3 separate regions of the Homo sapiens genome follow, and regions 2 and 3 are each linked to region 1. The links are contacts of gene promoters, found by promoter capture Hi-C in blood cells and fetal thymus (Javierre and others, 2016). All regions are on one chromosome and are shown on one strand. The core of a region is centred on a gene start or on the middle of the fragment in contact, and the rest is flanking DNA. Distances in the headings are between cores, read along the strand shown. Region 1 holds the start of SEC62 (SEC62 preprotein translocation factor). Region 2 overlaps EIF5A2 (eukaryotic translation initiation factor 5A2). Region 3 has its middle 15 kb from the start of RPL22L1.

Evidence for each region. Contacts are between HindIII fragments. The CHiCAGO score rates a contact against its expected background, and 5 or more counts as called.
Region 2: a contact is called between a fragment that was not itself captured here and the fragment with the promoter of SEC62 in region 1, in 6 of 17 cell types (naive B cells, non-activated CD4 T cells, total B cells and 3 more). The highest score is 6.3, in naive B cells.
Region 3: a fragment that was not itself captured here is called in contact with the fragment with the promoter of SEC62 in region 1 in 1 of 17 cell types (total B cells); the score reaches 5.5 in total B cells.

The regions. Positions count from the first base shown.
Region 1 is chr3:169,964,645-169,968,619 of GRCh38, reverse strand. It overlaps SEC62 (SEC62 preprotein translocation factor), which reads right to left and starts at 1,813. Exons shown (of 8, transcript NM_003262.4): 1 at 1,762-1,813. The coding sequence starts at 1,797. It also overlaps the pseudogene FHL1P1. RefSeq lists enhancers at 1-138, 1,695-2,134. The HindIII fragment of the contact is 8,040 bases long and covers 1,153-3,975 here.
Region 2 is chr3:170,903,901-170,907,875 of GRCh38, reverse strand. It overlaps EIF5A2 (eukaryotic translation initiation factor 5A2), which reads left to right. Exons shown (of 5, transcript NM_020390.6): 2 at 35-234; 3 at 783-887. The coding sequence starts at 70. Among named protein-coding and RNA genes, the nearest start is that of EIF5A2, 2.7 kb to the left of the region's middle. The HindIII fragment of the contact is 744 bases long and covers 1,634-2,377 here.
Region 3 is chr3:170,852,836-170,856,810 of GRCh38, reverse strand. No RefSeq gene overlaps it. Among named protein-coding and RNA genes, the nearest start is that of RPL22L1, 15 kb to the left of the region's middle. The HindIII fragment of the contact is 892 bases long and covers 1,542-2,433 here.

The DNA of each region.
Region 1 (3,975 bases), core at 564-3,063:
ATAACTTTTAATAAATAAGTTGACTCACCTATTATTTTCACAGCAATCTTAAAGTTTTTCTTTTTTCTTGCTTTTTTTTTTTTTGAGGTAAATATGTTTTCTTACCGATGCAGACAGGGAGGTAAAAATTAACTTGCTCAAAGTTACTCAGCCAATAATTGGTGGAGGTGGGGTACAAACAGGCAGTTTGGCTCAAGTTTTAGCTCTCTGCCACTGTCACATTACTCCACAGCCTCTGTTTAATATAAGATCACAACTAAATAAGAGCAGCTATTCAAAAGGTGAATTATATAGCCCTTACAACAATATTAAAGAGCAACTGGAATTGTAAAACAATGTGTATTGAAGGGCATAAAATTGTACTGTCAAGTGTAAATCTAAGGAGTTCTGTAAGTACAAATCTGACAGACAATTTCAATATACAATCTAATAAAATACTGTATACCCACGTCAGAGGAATAACACTAACTCTTGAAAGATTAAGAACAGTATAATTAGAAACTTCTACTGATCTTAAGACCTAGTCTTATCTGTCTGAACTCGAAATCTGCCTCTTTCTAATTCCCTTCTGCACCCTGTTCGGAACTACTTTATTTCTGCCAAATTCCAAAATTCCAAATTTACTGATCATGTGTGTCTTTTTCACAGCACTTAAAAAGTTTACAGAAGAATTTTAACTTGCATAGCTCAAAACATCTGTATTGTACGCCAATAAATCGATAAACTTAAAAAAAAAAAGAAGGGATAAAATGGAAGAAAGAAAAAATCATTCTAAGCAATGAAATAGTAAGGAACAGAAAGGCAATGATGAATGTAACAATTTATGATTATAGTAACAATTTACTACATGTGATCAATTTGAGGGCTTATGAAGGTTTCTCAGCACATCAGCTGATGAGACGACTAATAAATATCCTGAGTCCAAGATGTTCTACATAATTAATCCTCTTGGCAAAGAACAAGAACCAGGGAAAATCGCAAGGAAGAAATGCACAAATGACACGCATGTGGAATTAGGGGGAGATGTTATGTACGTTACTACGAGGATGACACACTGGCATGTGAAAGGTTTCTGGGCTCCACCAGCTCGTTGCAGCACCAACGAGGTTGTGGTTGTTTACACCACGTCGCCCGGAAAAAAGCCGGCAAGCTTCAAGTGGACTATTAAGTTAATAATATTGAAGGGAAAGAAGGGCAACGCAACTGAACATCTGGATGAGCAGATCCCTGCCTAGGCCCCGAGGCAGCTGACCAAGTCCAGATCATTCCCCCTTACGGTCTATGCGCACAAAGAACCAGCTGCTTTAGGTCAGTCCGCCGCCTCCTGCTACCCCTATTACCGTGGCCTTAATTTCAGGCCAGCTAAGGCCAGAGGATGGGGTGAAGGGAGGGGAGGAGCCCCGGGAAGGGTCAGCGTCTGCGCCCCAGGGGAGGCTGACCTTCCAGCTCAGGCCCGGGACAGCGCGACCACAGGAACTCCAGGCCCACAGCCGCGCCTCCGCAGCCGGATTCTGAGCGCGGCGCCTCCTTCCTTCCCCTGCTGCTCCACCACCACCTCCGTCTCTGTCTCCGCCGTCGCCAACACCGCCCCCCCTCAGGCCCCTCACAACGCGCAGCCTGCAGCCAGCTGCCTCGCGGCGGAACCCCACCCCACCCCACCCCACCTCGCCCTTGCTTTCGCTCGCCCTTTTAGGGGGCTTTCCCCGCCCCTTCCACTATCCAGCGCGCCGAAGCCCCCTGCCCAGAGCTCGGCTTTGCTACCTGGATCCGCTTCTTGTGTCTCCTGCGTTCCGCCATGTTGGCCGCTCCGCCCGGTTCCCTCTGACGTGGAGCGAGGAGGGGGCGGTGGAAACCTCGCGAGAACGCGCCCCGAGGCCCGTTATGTAATCCGCCGGCTGGCGCCCCTGGAATGGGGAGGTCGGCCGCCTGGCGGGGCCAGCGGTCCTTAGCGGTGCCTTCTCTCCCCTCTTCCCTCCGCTCCTGCTGTGCGGGAACTGGAGAATCGTTAGGACGTGGAGGAAGCAGAGAAGTGGATCAGAGAACAGGAGGGCTGGGAAGAGTCCTGGTTTCTCAATCCTGACTGAGCATCTGAATCACCTGAGAAGCTACTAAAATGCAGATTCCCCGACCCCATCCCCTTAGAGTCAGAGTCTGTGCATTTAGGGTGCGGCCTTTCTCAGAGGGATCGACTGAGACCTACTGAACCCTAGAAGTCTTTACCTGAGGCAGTTCCTGCAATGTACTGTATATTTCATGACATTCCATGTAAAAGATGACAAGACCGAGACCGTTGAGTGACAGAGATAAGAACTGACTTATCTAAGGCTCCACAGGTGGTAGATGGCAGAGCCGAGACCTGAGCCAATTATCTTTTCTCCTGCACTGTGCGGGGTAATACAGCTCGTTTAAAACAAGCTGGAGTCTCCATTCCGTTTTCCGCGTTGCTTCTCACAACTCACTGTTAGAATCCAGAAGTAAGAGAACCCGGGGAAGCGTAAGGAAGATGAATAGGACAAAGATTCTAAGAAGGTGGGAAGGAAGAAGGCTGCAGTCTATTTCAAGTCTGGTGAATTTCAATCACTGTAGCCTTTATTGTTATTTTAGAGCCACCTAGACCAAAAGAGAAGGAGCTCAAATTGCTGGTAAGTGCTTAGATAGAAATTCCCTTGACTGACTTTATAGAGATCTTTAAAGCGTTTTTAATTGTAGAAAATTGGGAAAATTCAGAATAGAAAGATGTTCTTTTTTTTTTGATGCTGAGTTTCGCTCTATATTGCCCAAGCTGGAGTGCAGTGGCGCAGTCTCGGCTCACTGCATCACCGAACTCCTCGTCTCAACTGATCTCCCTCCTCAGCCTCCTGAGTAGCTGGAACTACAGGCATGAGCCACCACACCTGGCTAATTTTTACTTTTTTTGTGTGGAGATGGAGTTTCCTTATGTTGCCCGGGCGGGTCTTGAACTCCTGGGCTCAAAACGATCCACCTGTCTCTGTCTCCTGAGTAACTGGAACTACAGGCGTGAGCCACTGTGACCGTTCAGTTTATTTTCTTATAGTATTCTGACTTTGTGTGTGTGTGTGCATGTGTGTTTGTATTTATATTTTTTCCTGTTTCCCAAATTGAGATCATATGCAATAAGGCAGCTGCTTTTTTCACTTAATGTTAGGTTGTAAGCGTTTATTATACCATTAAAATTTTTTTCCAGGTTTCCCATATTATATATCTAACCTAAGAGCAATTAAATATGTAAGTAAGGCAAATTGCAGCATCTTGATGCCTAATTTTTTAATAAAGTAAGATTGCTGAATTTTTTTTTTTTTTTTGGACTATGCAGTTCTGGTCTCAGGAGTCATTTAATTCCTTTCTCCTCTATAATCTATAATTTGGGTGTGTGTATAGTCAGGGATGGGGTGAGAAAGAAGTAATTATTCTTGCCAATTAACCCAAAACATAATATAGAATATGAAATGTCTTTATTTCCTTCAATCCCTCTACCCACCCAGAATGATGAATCTGTTTTGTGCTGTTTTATGTGGACATAAACACTGGACTATTTTATAGGAGACCTGGTCTATAAATGAAAATATTATTGCATTCAGTAGGTATTGAGTGCCTACTAGATAGATGTCAAATGTTAGGTTAGGACTATGGTGGGGAATAAAAATCCTTTATAGACAATGACTCATCCTCAAGTTACTGCCTTACTATTTTCTTCATCAGCAGAGCTTTAATTTAGTGTCCTCTTGTTCTGTCATTCACTCCTTAGATTACAACAATTTGGTTTCTACCTCCACCATCCAGTAACAATTATTTTGTCAAACCCAATACCTTCTCTCAGCTGGCATCTTACTCAGTATTTGACAATATTGACTGTTCTTCTTGACTTCTTTTCCTTCTTTGGCATGTATATCAACTTCTTTCTGATTTCTCGTTGACTTCTCTCCTTTTACCCAATTCTCACATGTTCCTGGCCAC
Region 2 (3,975 bases), core at 756-3,255, 940 kb before region 1:
GTTGTTAAAAAGCAAACACAAACTTTTTGTGTAGTTCCCACGGAAAAACTACCATCTCCCCTGCCCACCATGGCAGACGAAATTGATTTCACTACTGGAGATGCCGGGGCTTCCAGCACTTACCCTATGCAGTGCTCGGCCTTGCGCAAAAACGGCTTCGTGGTGCTCAAAGGACGACCATGCAAAATAGTGGAGATGTCAACTTCCAAAACTGGAAAGCATGGTCATGCCAAGGTAAGTACCCTTGCAGATCAGGCTTTGGCTTCGGCGTTGGGACTTTGATCATTTGTATTCCGTTACAGATCATGAGATTTCTATACTTAAAATTTTGTAATAAGCACTATTTTTTCCTTCCCACAATTACTGGGTAATCAGTTATTACGTTGAATACTTAAAGGTAGCATTCCCTTCTTGGGCCCTTACAATGTTCATTAACTGGGAACTGAAACTTTCCTGAATCCTAGTGACCTATAAGATCTATTTAGTTTACAGATGAGAAAACCTGTTCTAGCAATTCTAAGAAATCTACACTTTATTTTTCTTGTGTAATCTCATAATTGAATCACTGGTCTATATTGGGTCTTGACATGTCGTGATACTGTTTAGTTGTTTACTGCCTCTTAATTGTAAGACCACTACATTTTTTTTTAAGTAAAATTAGATGACCTTGGAAGGAGGAGAAAAAGAATCTGTTGTAATCAGCATTGGTATTGTGCTCTTGTGTGTGTAATGAGTGATATACTTGGCAGAGATTAAACAGGTTTCCTGTTCTCCTCTGTTAGGTTCACCTTGTTGGAATTGATATTTTCACGGGCAAAAAATATGAAGATATTTGTCCTTCTACTCACAACATGGATGTTCCAAATATTAAGAGAAATGATTATCAAGTAAGCACTGATTTTCTTTAGAATGTTGCTTGTTTCTTCAAGGTGCAAATACTTTGTACTATCAGTAATAATTTGACAAAACCCAAGAGTAGTTTTGTAGGTTTTTCTAACCAATTATTAGGCACCAGCTATCTTAGAAATTGGAGAAATAGTGATGTTTAACACATGTACTTTTCTAGGATTATTGCTAGTTTGCTATTTTTTTCACATTCTTGCATTTTTTAAAAAGTCAAATACTTATTAGTGTTCTCAGGCCAAGTGACTGCATATTGCAATTAAGTCCAATGTTTAGTAAAAGTACTATTCTCTCTGTTGTAAAATATTTCTTGTTCTAATTTAAAACATCCCTCCTGGATGTTTTGTTTCTTTTCACTGATCAGACCTGAGACATTCAAGAAACTACTGAAATTCATGTTCCTACCAAGTTTTTGCATTAATGAATGTTAGTCAGAACTTGACATTCTTAAGTAGAGAAATAAGTTGAAAGCCATAAATATAAAGGATAAAGTACCTGGTCACTGAGTATGGTGAAGAAAACACAAAAACTATATAATTGGTTAAATTATACTTAGTGACCATGCTATGACCTTTTGCTAAATTATGTATGTAAATTTCAAGTTTTAGTTCCAGTTATACATTTGGGTAGGTCATATTTAATGATAGCATTTTGTTGTTTGAAGTATTGATGATAACAAAATAATTGACCTTATAGGATGTGGAAGCTCAGATTACTTATAACTAAAGCTTTTCTTGAAAGTCTTCAATTTCTGTATCAAGCATACCATATATCAAACTCATTTCTGCTCATTTTACATAGTGAAAAATACAAAGTTGACACTGGTATTTGTTTTATCCGACTTAAACTGATTTTTTTCTGTACCCTTTGTTGTATTGTATAAATTTCTTTTAATGTTGCTATCAACTGCACTTACGCAATGATTTCCTTTTGCTGTTTGTCCACATGCAAACATACTTTTTTGTGGTTTTAATCTAGTAAACACTTTTATATTTTCACTTTCCTACTTGTCATAAATGTTTTCTAGGTTGCTTTGAAGTCTTTGTAGAAATTTGAATTGTCTTGCAAGTGGGTTTTTTTAACCAGGTAGATCTGGGTTTGGATCTAGTTCTGTCACTTTCTAGTTGGATGATTTTGGACAAGTTATACACCTTTCTGAGCCTGTTTTCTCATCTACAAAATAGTGATAATAGGAGGATTAAATGAGAAAATGTACCCCATTAAGAACTCCATAAGTAGATACGTACCAAAAAGTGCTGTTCTGTTTCCCCCTTTTCCTATGTAAAAATTCTACTTAATCATTTCATTATTGTTGGAGCACCAACTTTGATGTGGTACATAGTAGGTGCTCGAAAAATATTTGTTAAATGTATATGTGATTACTGAATGTGGTAGAGATAGTACAGCAGGCTAAAGTTGAGCGTAGAATGTTGTCAAAATTGGGTTTCTCTTTTCGTCTTAAAGTATGAAAGCTTTGACTATTCAATATTAATTATATTCAGTAATATTCATTCAATATAGAATGCTTTTGCCTGTTGCATGTTTCAGAAAGATGGTATCAGCAGTTCAGATAATTACTATTATACTATGATAAGGTTAGCCAGTCATTGATTGGAGCTCAAGACTTAAAGGAAAAATTTGGTTTGGGTCCTAGACTAGGATGAGGCAAATGAAGTGAGGGAGGCTCTTGCCTCAGGCACAAAATTTTAAATAAAGACAGAACTAGTAACAATGACAAGCCATATAGGAGCTCAAGGCGCAAAGAAAATTAATTCTGATCCCATCTTTATTTAGAATTTTGGTATTTTATCATAGGATTTTTGCATTAATTCTAATTTTTTAAAATATTGCATTAAAATGCCTATCTGATCACTGAGGTTTTTTTGGTGCCTTCTTTAATTTTGCACCCAAGACAAGTGTCTTACTTCACCCTTGTCCCAACCCTTGGTATGTACTCCGCACTGCAAAGTGGATAAGAGGATGATTTAAGCCAGGCAGGCCTGGTCCTAGTCTTACTTTGGCACTTAATAGCTGTGTGACCTTGGTTGACAAGTTACTTAACCTGTTTTGCTTCCATTTCTTTCTTTATAAAGCAGAGACATAAATAATAACGCCTCATGGGATCATTTTGAGGTTTAATTAGTTAATACAACAACGCCTGGCATAGAAAGTATTCAGTATTTCTCTGCTCTTCATTTTCAAGTCAGCATAGAAAAATAACTTATTTCTGTTAATTGTTTAAAAAACTAGTTCTCCAACCTGGGCAATGTGGTGAGACGCCATCTTTACAAAATACAGAAAAAAAAAAATTAGCGAGGCATGGTGGTGTACACAGCTGTAGTCCCAGCAGACCCAGAGGCTGAGGTGGGAGGATCACTTGAGCCTTGGGAGGTCAAGGCTGCACTAAGCTGTGATCACTCCACTGCACTCTAGCCTGGGCGACAGAGTGGGACCCTGTCTCAAAAACAAAAGTTCTGTGGGCCTTTCTATTTATATTTATTGTGCTATGGTGGTCTTCACTTACCTAACCAAGTGCCTTGATTAAATATCTACTCATTATTTGGCGTGTGTAATCCTTTATGTTTGCTGAATTCAATATTTTGAGTGCCAGTTCGGCAGTTGGCTAAAGAGAAATATGTATTCTGTTCATTATGATAATTAAAAAGTAAACAGGAAACAAAACGTATTAATATTTATAGTTTTAATTTTATGTGTTTTAAAATAAGTTCAGAATGAAAGAAAAATTGTCTCCTAACTTCTCTTTCAAGATTAGCTTGGATTAGAATTGCTCATTTACATTACTTCTCCCAAAAGTAGTTATAGATGTCCGGGACTGAGTGATGTTGAAAATTATAAATGCATCCAGATAGACCTTTGGGAATCCCCAAATTCATACAGAAATGCTTATTCAGACTTTAGCACTCTCTGGAATCATATTTCTTTAGAAAGTTCTGTGTTGATATGAACTTCACCACAAGTTAAATGCCGTTTCTGCATTTACTACAGTTTTACCTGTCATTTGAAAACCATTTTCCAGAAGGAAGACTAATTACTATAGACACATAAAGTATA
Region 3 (3,975 bases), core at 738-3,237, 890 kb before region 1:
ATGGTATTTTTGTTTTTTAACTTTTTTTTGAGACAAGCCCTTGCTCTGTTGCCTAGGCTGGATCATGGCTCACTGCGTCCTTGACTTCGTAGATTCAAGCCATCCTCCCACCTCAGTCTCCTGAGTAGCTGAGACTACAGGCACACACCACTACCTGGCTCATTTTTTAAAAAATTTGGGTAGAGATGGGGTCTTGCTATATTGCTCAGGCTGGTCTTGAATTCCTGAGTTCAAACAATCCTCCTGCCTGAGCCTCCCAAAGTGCTATTATTGCAGGTGTGAGCCACCATACCCAGCTGCTATTTTTCTTTTGTTTTATTACTAGTTTTCATTTTGTTTTGTTGTAGTTGTTGCTATAGAAGCATTATTTTTATTTTTATGTAATTAAATCAATTAACTTTTTTCTTATTGCCATGGTTAGAAAAGCTTTCCCCGTTATCAAGAATTCATTTATGTTTTCTGCTAGTACTTACATATTTTCATCTTAAAAAAATGTAGGTCTCTATTCTATTTGGAATTTATCCTGGTTTACAATTTGAGAAGTGGATCCAATTATACCTTTTTCCCATGTGACTACCCACCTATACCATTACCCCTGATGAAAAAGTTCCCAGGAAGTTTTGCTTAGCATAGGTTTTCCTACTTACTGTCTGGAAACCCTTGTATGTGGTCATGCTGAAGGGACTGGAGTCTAGATATATAGCTTCAGTGTGTGCTCTTTTACAAGCTGGATGATTAAAATGCCAGGAAGGCCAGTTTTAAACAATGTGTTGCATTTACAAATGGCTTTCTCTTTTCTTTTGATCCCTTAACAGCCCTCTGTGGCACAATATTATCTTCCCATTTTTCAGATGAAAAAACCAGGTCTCAGGTTTACTGGCTTGCCCATGGTCACACCATGGCACCCACCTCTCACTCCTCACCCAGTGCTCCTCCCACACACGGGGCCATGTCACACATCCTGCCTCTCTGTTGCCTACTAGCTTTGTGACCTTGGACACATCTCTTCACCCTCTGGGCCTCAGTTTCCCCTTCTGTATATAAAGAAGTGGTTAAAAATAGGTCAGCATTTCTCGGGCTTTAGTAACACCTGCTTCCTTTTGATAAACACAGATATTTCTCATGTTCCTTGTTCCCAGTTCCAATTGCCACCCTGTGATATAACTGATGCATAAATATCCCCACCAACCAAGGTATTTTGGGGCTTTCTATTCTGAAACAAAACAAAGTAAGATTTTTGGGATAATTTTCCCACTATAAACTCATAATATTGGATATACCTTTTTTTTTTTTTTTTTTTTTTTTTTTTTGAGACGGAGTCTTGCTGTGTCGCCAGGCTGGGGTGCAGTGGCGCAATCTCGGCTCACTGCAACTTCCGCCTCCCAGGTTCAAGCGATTCTCCTGCCTCAGCCTCCTGAGTAGCTGGGATTACAGGCCCACACCACCACACCTGGCTAATTTTTTGTATTTTAGTAGAGATAGGGTTTCACCAGGTTGGCCAGGATGGTCTCGGTCTCCTGACCTCATGATACACACAAGCTTCTTGAGAGTAACATACTTCCCCCATGATAAGGCTTTTTTTTTCTGTCCTAAAATCCTATGAGTTAATGAGCCAAACTGGGAATCATGATCTGCTATCTCAATTATGATGGAATAGATATGTTTTCTCCCAAGGGAGGGAACACTGCAACTCCTCTCTCCCTCTTTCTCTGAGATGGGGAGGTGTGAATTACAGATTCCATACATGTCACAAATATATGGTCAATGATTTCTGCCTTGGCAGTCGCAGTCATGGGAGATGATGGGTGAGTTATATATACTCTCTGCACTCAAGGAAATCCCAGTTCTAACGAGGGGAGCAAATGTGGGTACAAATGACTTTAGGTAAGTGTGGTTCATGCAGTAATAGAGATATTACAAAATGCTTTAGAAGCACCAATACCATAATGAGTGGGAAAAGGAATCCAAGAAGGCCTTCTGCAGGAGGTGGCTTACCCTGACTTCTCTTTAAGGAAGAATGGGAATTGATGGGGCAGAGAAGAAGAGGGAGAGAATTCCAGGCTGAGGAGGAATGGTGATAGTGGCTACTACTCATCGAAGGCATCTGTTTTGGAATCTTTACATACTACATCTCATTTAATTTCCACAGCTACCCTTCAAGCTAGTTATTAGTCCCCTTTTACAAATCAGAAAACCAAGGGCTTAGAGTGCTAAACAGTCGGTCTACGGCCACACAGCTAATAAGTTCCAAATTGGAATTTAAATTCAGATCTCTCTGGCTTCAATGCTCATGCTCTGTAAATGCTTTAGTGTAAAAAAATGTTTCTAAATTTCTCCCTGCCAGGCAATCTTTTCTCACAGTGATGCACATTCAGCTGGCTCCTTAGGAGAACCAAGCCTAAGAATAATCTAGCTTTTGAAGAGAACCAAGCTTCTTTTTTCCTCTTCTGGAGAACCACAAACTGGCTTAACAGAGGGCTCTCTGACGCACAGTTTTATTGTAAGAAGGCCAGTCACAGGAGACGGCCTACTGCCTTCAAGAAACAGCATGGAAGATTCCTTATTTCATCACCCCTGTACTTTTCATTGAGGTATGAAACAGACTTTTCCAATGAGACTTTTTCTCTCCTATTTCAGCTGAGACTCCAAGAACTGAGAACAAAATTAAGGTGCCAAATATTCCCACATTCCAAATCTATGCAGAGCTTACAAAGGAGGTGCTCCAGCTCCAGTTTTCTAAGACTTAGTTCATTTCCTACTTCCAGGACACATGAGAAATTGAAGACTTTTAGGCATTTGACTCATCCTTGAGAAAAACTAAGGCAAAGGCAGTGGCTGGAGCAGTTTGCCTACGGGAGAGCAATGAGGGGTACATTTCCATAGCTACAAGGAGGCACAGGTGCTTCCCCTGGACCAGATGTAGTCCACAGATGTAGTGCACGGGGAAGGACCAGGCTTGGGTTGAGTTCTTGTTCACCTAAGAGGACTGCTTGGGAGAGAAGTGGGACCCCAAACAGAAAGAGTCTGTGTATAAGGGACAACCACATGCTCAGGAGCTACAGGTAGTGAGTGAAGATCCTGAGAAATGGCATTGCTTATGTCACGAATGTTGCAGCAAAAGATTCTCTGTGATAAATCTTTGAGAAATCCAGAAATGTATACTTCAAGAGAAAGAAGAAGCCTTGAACTTTCTTCAAGCCCAGAAAGCCACATCACCAAACTGTAGTGGTGGAGACAGACCTTTTCTGTCCCTTCCTTTTGCCTCCCAGACCCTGCTCATTTCAAGGCCAACCCCAGAGAAGCCAGAGGCAGCCTATTGAAGTTGGAGGAGGTACACACCTTGGAATTCCCTGGTACACAAACTAATACCACTGCCTTTTTGTTTAAGCTATATCATAAACATTCTGACACTTTGACAGAATTTTTGGTTTATTTGTTTTCCTCCCTCACTAGACTGTAAATACTTCGAGGCTAAAAACCAGGTCAAATTTATCTCTGTGTGCCTTTCTGGGTAAGCAAATCCATATAACTACAAAAGAATCCCAAGTCAGATAATTAGTAACATTACCTTTCATTCATAAATGTAGAAAGGCAACCAAGGTTCACTCAAAATGAGTAGAACCAACAGTATCAAAGAAAATGATTGGAATGAACAAATTAAAACAAGTGACCCAGGACAGATATGCAAGTAGCAGAAGAAAGTTTCCCTCCGCCCAAGAAAATCTGGATCCTCATATTGCGAGGTAGGCCAGGTAGGATGAAGGGAAAAGCTCATAACTTCCTGAAGAAGTTTCAGTACTCCAAAGGATAAAAAGAAAATCCCAAAAGCTTCCAGAGGGAAGAGAAAACAAAACAAAACAGTTTACCTACAAAAAAATAATCTTGAATTGGACCTACTAAGGGAGTGCACTAAGCTTACCAGCAGGAATGTCTGGGTCTCATCAGCTATAAGAATCCTTTCCTGTCCTTAGGCTT